Regions from separate parts of the Homo sapiens genome. Here region 1 is linked to region 2. Evidence: promoter capture Hi-C in 16 types of primary human blood cells and fetal thymus (Javierre and others, 2016). All regions are on one chromosome and are shown on one strand. The core of a region is centred on a gene start or on the middle of the fragment in contact, and the rest is flanking DNA. Distances in the headings are between cores, read along the strand shown.

What was found. The method cuts DNA at HindIII sites, captures the fragments that hold promoters and counts their contacts. A CHiCAGO score of 5 or more calls a contact.
Region 1: a contact is called between a fragment that was not itself captured here and the fragment with the promoter of EDN3 in region 2, in 4 of 17 cell types (total CD4 T cells, naive B cells, naive CD4 T cells and 1 more). The highest score is 6.4, in total CD4 T cells.

The regions. Positions count from the first base shown.
Region 1 is chr20:58,856,027-58,860,594 of GRCh38, forward strand. It overlaps a transcript of GNAS not described here. Among named protein-coding and RNA genes, the nearest start is that of GNAS, 33 kb to the right of the region's middle. RefSeq lists an enhancer at 1-317. The HindIII fragment of the contact is 537 bases long and covers 1,032-1,568 here.
Region 2 is chr20:59,298,417-59,302,893 of GRCh38, forward strand. EDN3 (endothelin 3) reads left to right here and starts at 2,195. Exons shown (of 5, transcript NM_207034.3): 1 at 2,195-2,448; 2 at 2,994-3,306. The coding sequence starts at 2,397. The HindIII fragment of the contact is 2,120 bases long and covers 702-2,821 here.

The sequences.
Region 1 (4,568 bases), core at 50-2,549, 440 kb before region 2:
GCGGGGCCTCCCGGGAAATAAGCGGGGCCCTTGGCCTGGGGGAGCGGGGAATCGCTTTTCGCCGGCCTCCGCGTAACCTTGTTTCTGTATGTCTTTCTCTCTTTTTCCTTTTGCGCTAAGCGTTTCCTCACTTCTCATTCGTTCGCCAAACCCTCCCGCCTTTACAGTTGAAAAACCAGACACACAGGTATCTGGGGCGCCCGGGGCTGCACACCTCAGTTCGGTATTCTGCACACACACAGCTCGCCTGGTCGGGGGATGGGGGAAAGGGGAAACACAACCTGCTGTAGGCAAGTCCGGATCCCAAACCACTTGGGGGCTGGTTCCAAGGGGGTGGGCGTGGCTGTGTTTAAAAAATATGAAATAATTTTTCTTCCTAGCGAAGAGCCCGAGGTAAGCCAATCATTTTTACAAAGAGTACAGTAGGAGGGGCTTGGTTTAAAAAGATGGGGGTTATGTGTTGTGAGTGGAATGTCACCTTTGTGTTTGAAATGCAACTAAAATAAAAGTTTTCAAAAAATGCTCTGAGTGTATTTGAAGTGTGTGGACAAAGTATGGCAAAACCGTGAATATGACTTGTGAAAACAAGTAAATGTTTGCATGTGAATTTTTTCAGGCAGCTTTAGCTGGGGGCAAAGAGGCTTGTCAAAGGTAAGGTCTTCTGCAAATTGGCTCTGGATACAAAAAATATATAAAGGTATTTTGATTACAGAAGTTAAAAATCATGATATTCTTGTCAGGAGGGTATTTTGGTGGCCTTCTACCTTCCCCCTCCTCCTCTGCTCACATTTCCCCACCTCTCGGTGCCCTCCCCTCTCCAGGATCCCCCTCCTCACCCCACAGCAAGACCCTCTCCTGTATCTCCCAGTCTTTCCCTGGCCATTCCCAGTTCCCCACCCTCCCCCCAGCCCCCCAAGACTTCTTAACTTCAAATCTGGGGCATTAAATATTTTTGCCACATTTAAACAAAGCATCAATTAGCAATGGTCTGAATATGTGGTTTAAATGAAAACTTCCAAACAAACTTCACAAGCTTAATTTTTACATTTTATTCTCTAAGACTTTCTCTAAGACCTTCCAAGGGATTTCAAGATCACAGTTTTTAAGGCTGCGCTACATTTGTTAAATATGTTAGAATGTGTGATGGTTTTTTATTAATGGCATTATTGGCATATAACTGTGCTATTGTGATGTGGCTCTCACAAATCACAATTTTAAATGTGAGGATCATTTTGTGTATGCCCATCCAGGTAGATCATGACATTGTCATTTACCTAAAGACATATAATATGGTCGTTGTTTTAAATTTCAAATGTCTCAACTACACTAAAGCTACCAAACATTAAATGACAATGCACTGGTTTCCCTGCAGACAACTGATTTTGCCATAACAGACCCATTTCAATATTCCAAGCACAGCTCTGGGAAGCAAACCTGTAGATTGGGGGTGGGAGGACATAAATGCATACAGACAGGAGACCCAAGTGACAGTGTGCACCTGACCCCTAATTGTCAAATTGGTGATGTGCCTTACATGCGGGGCCTCAGTTGCCTCCTTTGTGAAATGAAGCTTTCCTAGCAGATCTCCACTAAGGAATGCTTTTGCACCATGATTTGAGTCTTCTATTCTTCCTGGAGGTGGGGGGTGGAGGAGACACAGTCTACTTACATCAGGACTGGAGACTTATACCATAGATTGTGCAGCCATCAATCCTGCAGCAAACTGTCCATGTTTGGGACCAGTCTTAAGAATATTAGAAGTTTCCTTTGTCTCCCCTTATTTTGTCACCAGGAGTAAAAATTAACTTTAAGAAAAGGAAATTTGCTGGGGTCACCTTGTACCTTGTCCTGGCTTTGTTCTCGGGTGCTGGTAGCCAAACACCTTTGGATGCAGCATAGTCCAGAAGGTGGGCTGGCAAACCATGGGCCATGTCTAACATAAGCCTGAAATATGATAGCCAGTGTTAGCTGCTAGCTGAAACTGTACCACTGCAGTTTGTCAAAGCAGGCTACAGTTTTTGACCAGGCTTCCTTTTGCAGAGGTGACGTACCTCTTCTGGACCTGAATTATTGATGGGGGACAGGGAGAGGAGGAAGGATGAGGACTTACTCACATGTAGGACAAGACTTTTTACTAACTTTTTAGTCCCAACATATAAAACAAGACATCCATACATCCCTACCACTGAAAATGCAGATCAAATGGCTGTCCTTTGATATGGTTGCTAATTTGTGACATGCAGATTCATCTGTTGCTTGAAAAAATGTATGTTCATGTGCTTATCCTTTCTGTTTTTATTGCCGGGACAATTTAATCTCATTACAGGGAATCCTAAGAAATCAAAGAGAGAGAGAGAGAGAGAAAGATAGATAGAAATCAGTAATATGATTAAAATTCTAAAATATCTAAAGAGTTCTTTTTAAAGAAGCCTTTTTCTTACTCAACACTATCCACCAATAGACTGTTTCCATGTTTCTGTTACGTTTTTAAATAATTTTGGTGGCTTAAACATTTTTTAAAACTTCATTTAGGTGTGATTTCCTCCTTAAGAACTGAATGGGGCTAATAGATCAGAGTTTCTTAGTATCTGCCACATTTATTAAAATTGTGTAGGCAAATGCTATATATAATAATGGCTATTCTGCTATGATGCTTTATTTATACAGTGAATCACAATTAATTGTATGATTATTTATGCCACCAAGTGCAACAGTATGCATTGTATTCCATCTTGCAGAAGCACCTTTTTATTTTTCTTTTCTCTCTCTCTCTCTCTCTTTTTTAACATACAGCCATTTTTTTATATTCTAAATGCCTCCACTGAGCTTTTGGTGTGGTAGGAAGGACATGGCTTATCAGGCCACAAAATTTTGGAGTCCAGATAGATTTATTATTTTCTCTTTTCAGTCTCCTAGTAAGATTCATGCTTCTCAAAGTCTGAAATTCTACCTTGGTTTTAATTCTTACAGATTTCTCTCAAAAAAAATTTTCCCATATAGGTAGATTAATGTTTAAAATTTACCCCCATTATTTACAATGGAAAACTGGTTTTAAGCAAAAAGAATTGGGGGTCATCCCCTTACTGTATGTATCCTCCTAACTTGAAAAGGAAAATCTCACTGCTCTCAGTATGATTAGTAACCAGTAATAATAATAACACATTCTGATTACATTTTTTGTTTGTTTGATTTGAAACAAAGTCTCCCTCTGTCACCCAGGCTGGAGTGCAATGGCAGGATTTCTGCTCACTGCAACCTCTGCCTCCCAGATTCAAGCAATTCACCTGCCTCAGTCTCCAGAGTAGCTGGGATTACAAGCGTGTGCCACCATGCCTGGCTAATTGTTTGTATTTTTAGTAGAGATGGGGTTTCACCATGTTGTTCAAGCTGGTCTCGAACTCCTGACCTCAAGTGATCTACCCAGCCTCCCAAAGTACTGGGATTACAGGCATGAGCCACTGTGCCTGGCCACATTTTACATTTTTTAAAGCCTTTCATCTAGTCATATTTGTCTCTTGAAACAGTCCTGGGCAATAAAAACGTGATAGGGCCCCATTTCATAGGCAAATAAACCAAAAGCTCAGAGATTAAATATCAGACACTTTTTTTTTTTTTTTTGAGAAGGAGTCTCGCTCTATCGCCCAGGCTGGAGTGCGATGGTGTGATTTTGGCTCACTACAACCTCTGCCTCCTGGGTTCAAGCGATTCTCCTGCCTCAGCCTCCTGAGTAGCTAGGATTACAGGTGCATGCACCATGCCCGGCTAATTTTTGTATTGTTAGTAGAGATGGGGTTTCACCATGTTGGTCAGGCTGGTCTCAAACTCCTGACCTCGTGATCCGCCCGCCTCAGCCTCCCAAAGTTCTGGGATTACAGGCATGAGCCATCGCGCCCGGCCATAAGGCACTTTTACTCAAAGACTGCAAGGTAGGTAAAGGATCACAAATTTCAAATTCAGATAATGCTTACCAGAAATGTGATGATAAGCTATAAAGCATTATTTAAATGTAAAGCATGATTATTCTAAGTATACTATGTGCTCTTAAAATCCCTTGCCAAATGACACGTGTCGAGTAGTCTGCTACTTTCTGAATTATAGCAAAACGCACAGATCCCTGGTTATAAATGTCCATTGAGTATACATGAAACATGAGCTCCCCCATTTCTGAGATGGCTGTCATTGCTTTGGTAATATTTCATTTACACATTTGCTTTAACTCATCTGCCAGCACTGCAACGTTGCAGTCTTAGTTTGTTGGGCTACTGTTTTCCTTTTTTTTTTTTTAAATGCAGGTTTTTTTAAAAGTTTTTTGGTTTTTTTGTTTTGTTTTGTTTTGTTTTTTTGCAGGGTCTAAAGCTTTTCTTCTTGTTTAGGTTTCCACTAAATAATAATTAATCATTATAATAATAAAATGCAGTTACTTTTCTGCATAGCTCTATTATAAGTATAGCGTTAGAATGTTTAGAATCCTGGTCTGGATCTCATGATCTTATCAAAATAACTCTGCTCCATAGTCTTTGTAGTGATTTTTTTTTAAAAGTATGCCTTACTTCTAGTCCAGGCTAATT
Region 2 (4,477 bases), core at 945-3,444:
GATACCTCCTGTGTCTGAACATGGTACCCGGAAACCTCCTCCTACTCCTTTTCTCCTTTTAGCTGATTAGTATATTTTCTATTCCTCCAGCCATCCCCCAATCCAAGAACTTTTTATTTTGTTGAAGATGGAAATTTTAATTCCAAAGAGATAGTAATTATTATGGTCTGAATATTTGTCCTCTCCAGATTTATCTGTTGAAATCCTATCCATGAAGGTGATGATGTCAGGAGGTGGGGCCCTTGAGGGGTGATTAAGTCATGAGGGTTGCAGCCCTCATGAATGGGGTTGGTGTCCTTAGAAAAGAGACCCCCAGAGAGCTGCCTTGACCCTTCCACAACTGAGGATGCAGTGAGAAGTCACCATCCATGATCAGAAATCGAGCCCTTATTAAACACCGAATCTACCAGCACCTTGATCTTGGTTTTCCAGACCCCAAAAATGTGAAAAATAAAACTCTGCGGTTTATCAGCCACCCAGCTTATGGCGTTTTGTTATAGTAGCCCCAACAAACAAAGATAATACTAAAATGATCCAAATTCTAGCCCAGCAGGAACAGAAGATATTGTGAGTCTTGGGTTTTTCTTATTTTCAAAGCATCAAGTGCAAAAACAAACAAATAAACACTTGGATTCAAGGGCTAGGCAGGATGGGATGGGAGTGGGGGGATGGAGAACTTCAGCATCAGCTTCAGTGCTGGAAGCTTGAGTGCTACTCTAGTTACTGCAGCTCTGTACCAATTTACCCAGAGTTTAGTGCTGTAAAACAACCATTTATTATGCTCATGGATTGTGTGGGTGGGAAGTTCGGACAGGGTACAGCGGGACAGCTATTCCTCAGTTGGAAGTCTTGAGGGCTGGGAGCTCAAATCATCGGAAGGCACATTCACTCAGGTCAGTGGCTGACACTGGTGGTCGGCTGGGAGGCCTCGGTTTCTCTCCACGTAGGTTTCTCCAGGTGATCTCTCCAGGTGGGCTTGTTAGGGCTTCCTCCTGGTACAGCAGCTGTGTTCAGAGGACAGGTGTCCTGAGCTATCAAGCCAGGGGGATGTTGTAGCACTCTTTTGGACTGTCCTCAGAAACTGCTCTGGTCACTTCAGCTGCTTTCTAGTTTTCAGAAGCTGGTCGTTAAGGCTAGTAGAGGGCAGGACCCAATTCAACCCCATTTTTTAGAGATGAGGTCTCGCTATGTTGCCCAGGCTGGTCTTGAACTCCCAGGCTCAAGCAATCCATCCACCTTGGCCTCTCAAAGAGCTGGAATTACAGATGTGAAGCACTGCCCCTCCCCCAACCCCATCTGTTATGAAAGGAGGGTCCTTTGACCACAAGTGCCCTGAGAAGTCAGGAGGACTTCCCAGTCTCAGACATTTTTATCTGAGCTGGAGATGGGGACAGCCTCCCACACACAGGACTTGGAAGGCTATGAAGGAAGTAGGGGGCTCTCTTGGGAGGTCATTTCCCTTGGTAGGGACGGTTGTGTGAATGAACTTGGCCTTTAGGGAGAGGAGCCCGACTCTCACCTGAAGCCACCCAACCTGTGCAGATGGCTGAGGAAGCCCTGGACACCACAGGACCGCTAACCCAGGATCTTTGTTGACTTTGCTCCCAGGCCACTGCCCCACACGCAGGCTCTGAACTCCTGGGAGAGGTAGGGAGCCAGCCCGAGGCGTGAGTCAAGAGTGTAAAGTACACCGAGTTCCTTGGCAAGCAGGCTCTTCAAGGGGAAGGTGTCACTCGGGGAACAATGAGAAATGTGTCTTTCCCTCAGCCCCTGATAGAAAAGATAACACCCCTTGAGCACAGCCTTTTCTCATCTGTTCTTGCTCTTGGATGGGGGGCTGCTACTCCGGAGCGGCGAACTGGCGGGCGGGGGTGCGCCTGTGAGTGTGAGCGCGCGTGTGCGTGTGTGCGCGCGCTCTCGTGGCCTTCCGGCAGCTGGCAGCTGTCCCGGCCCCCACCCCACCCTACCCCACCCCACCCAGCCGCGCCACGCCACGCCGCCCCCGCCCCTCGCTGTCCTGGGTGCGCCTCGGGCCGCTGCGCTCCTGGCCAGCTCCCCCCAGCGCCTGGGAGGCGACCCCCAGTGCGCCCGGGTTCAAAGGCCCGGCGAGGCAGTTCCAGCCCCTCTGGGGGGCGGGGAGGCGACGGGGGTGGTGCAGAAGCCAGAAAAGCCCGAGCCACAGCCGGCCAGCTCCGCGCAGGGATGGGCAGCGCGCTCTGAAAGTTTATGACCGCCGCAGCCAACTCCTGGCCGGAGCTGGAGACGCAGCGAGCGATCGGCCGGCCTCGAACCCCCACAGCTGGAGGGCGAGGCCAGCTGTACCCGGCCCCAGTGCCCTTTCGCGGCCACAAGCGGCCGTCCTCCTGGTCCGGTGCTCCGGCGCCTGATCTAGGTTCATGGAGCCGGGGCTGTGGCTCCTTTTCGGGCTCACAGTGACCTCCGCCGCAGGTAAGCGCACGGGGCGGCGCGCCTCTCCTGGCGCGAGCGCACACAAAAGGACCCAGGGCGGGGGACCCGAGGCGCGGAGAAGATGTGCGTCGCGGGGAGCAAACTCTTGCCTGGGCTCTGCACTCGTGAAGACGCCTGGGGGAGGGCTGGGGAGCAGAAGCGGCGCGCAACGACTACCCGCACGGGCTCCGGGAGTTGCAGCCCGCGCACTGGCTGGAGACCTGCTGCCTGGGCCGACTTGGTCAATTTTTCATGAAACTGGGGACTTTTCAGAAAGTTTGCGAACTATTCAGAGGCTGTGCCAAACCCTGGCAAAGTTTGCAGAAAGTATGCAAAATGCATGCAAGTTTTCAACGGGTGCAGATAGCTTGCAAGCTTTTCACAGAGTGTGCAGATAGCTTGGAAACTTTTCAGAAACTGCGCAGAGCTTTGGAAACTTTGCAGACATTTTGCTTGCTCCACCCCCCTCCTCAGGTGTTTGGGGGTGGCGGGTGTTGAGGGGTCTGCACACTCAGCTTAGGAGCCCCTCAATCTGCCTTCTGCAGGATTCGTGCCTTGCTCCCAGTCTGGGGATGCTGGCAGGCGCGGCGTGTCCCAGGCCCCCACTGCAGCCAGATCTGAGGGGGACTGTGAAGAGACTGTGGCTGGCCCTGGCGAGGAGACTGTGGCTGGCCCTGGCGAGGGGACTGTGGCCCCGACAGCACTGCAGGGTCCAAGCCCTGGAAGCCCTGGGCAGGAGCAGGCGGCCGAGGGGGCCCCTGAGCACCACCGATCCAGGCGCTGCACGTGCTTCACCTACAAGGACAAGGAGTGTGTCTACTATTGCCACCTGGACATCATTTGGATCAACACTCCCGAGTAAGTCAGCCTTTTGTGGTGAGGAACGTGGCTCCCGGACCAGGCCCACATCTGCTCATTCCCAGGAGGACCTCACTCCACCCCAGCCCCGCTCAGTTAGCCCAGAGCCTGCCCTGGCACAGCCTTTAGCTCTTGCTGGGGCCTCTTGCCAGCCCAGGTCTCTTCTGCAGGTCAGGGGTGTGACCCACATCCCCCCTGAGGGCCTGGCCCAAGAGAAACTCAATCCTGAGTTTGATCCTGTGGAAGGAGGAGCCCTCCCTCTGAATGAAGTGAACTGACCAGGGGGATTAGATACCTGAGATGTCTCTCTGAGCCTCTTTTCTGAGATAGAGAAAGCCCCGAAAGTTTATCTCATTCCCCAGGGGCCAAGGGGGCTCATACTCACTGTTGACCCCACCAGGATCCAAGGGGTTTAAAATTCCTTGAAAGCATCCTGGTCTCCAGGGAGTCTAAGGGTGGGTTTAGCTGAGCCTGACAGAACCTGCACAGTCCACTCGGGGTAGAATTCCCCTGGGATGGGCTCCCTTCCTTCCTGTGGGCCCCCCTGGATGCCAAGGCAGGGTGAATTCACATCAGCTCGTCCTTGGGCCTTCCACAGGCTGGCTCCAGTCACCCACTGCCATGGTCACAGAGGGCCTTCCCTTCTCTCCTGCAGTCCTTAGAAACTCTCTTACCCTAGGGCCTAGACAGCACCATCCTGAATTTGTCTTGGGGTTCGTCCAGTGGGGAAGTCAGCCTTCTCCTGGGGCCATGTGGAGAGAGTGTGGCTCTGACAGGGGGAGGCTTTGATGACTCCCAGTGTTCAGGGAACCCCTCCTGCAGGCACATCATCTTGCAGGCCATACAGAGGGCTTGACCTTGCCTGGGTCACCAACTCTCTGGCATTGGCTTCCCCATCTCTAAGATCTGGGACTTGGATCAGACACCTCTAAGTTCTGTTCCCTGGGTGTTCATGGGATCTCTTGGGACTCTTGCTTGTACCCTATTAGGGATTCTTAGCTGAGAACTCAGAGATGGTTGTGAATGCAAGCCCCTGGAAGCCTGGAAAGGCACCTTTGCCACCGTGTCCCGGAGCCGTCTTGATTCAGGTTCCTCACGGTCACCTTTATCCCCAAGCCCCATAACCTCTGAGCCCTTGGTAGCAGCTTTCATGGGGCTCACTTACCTACCT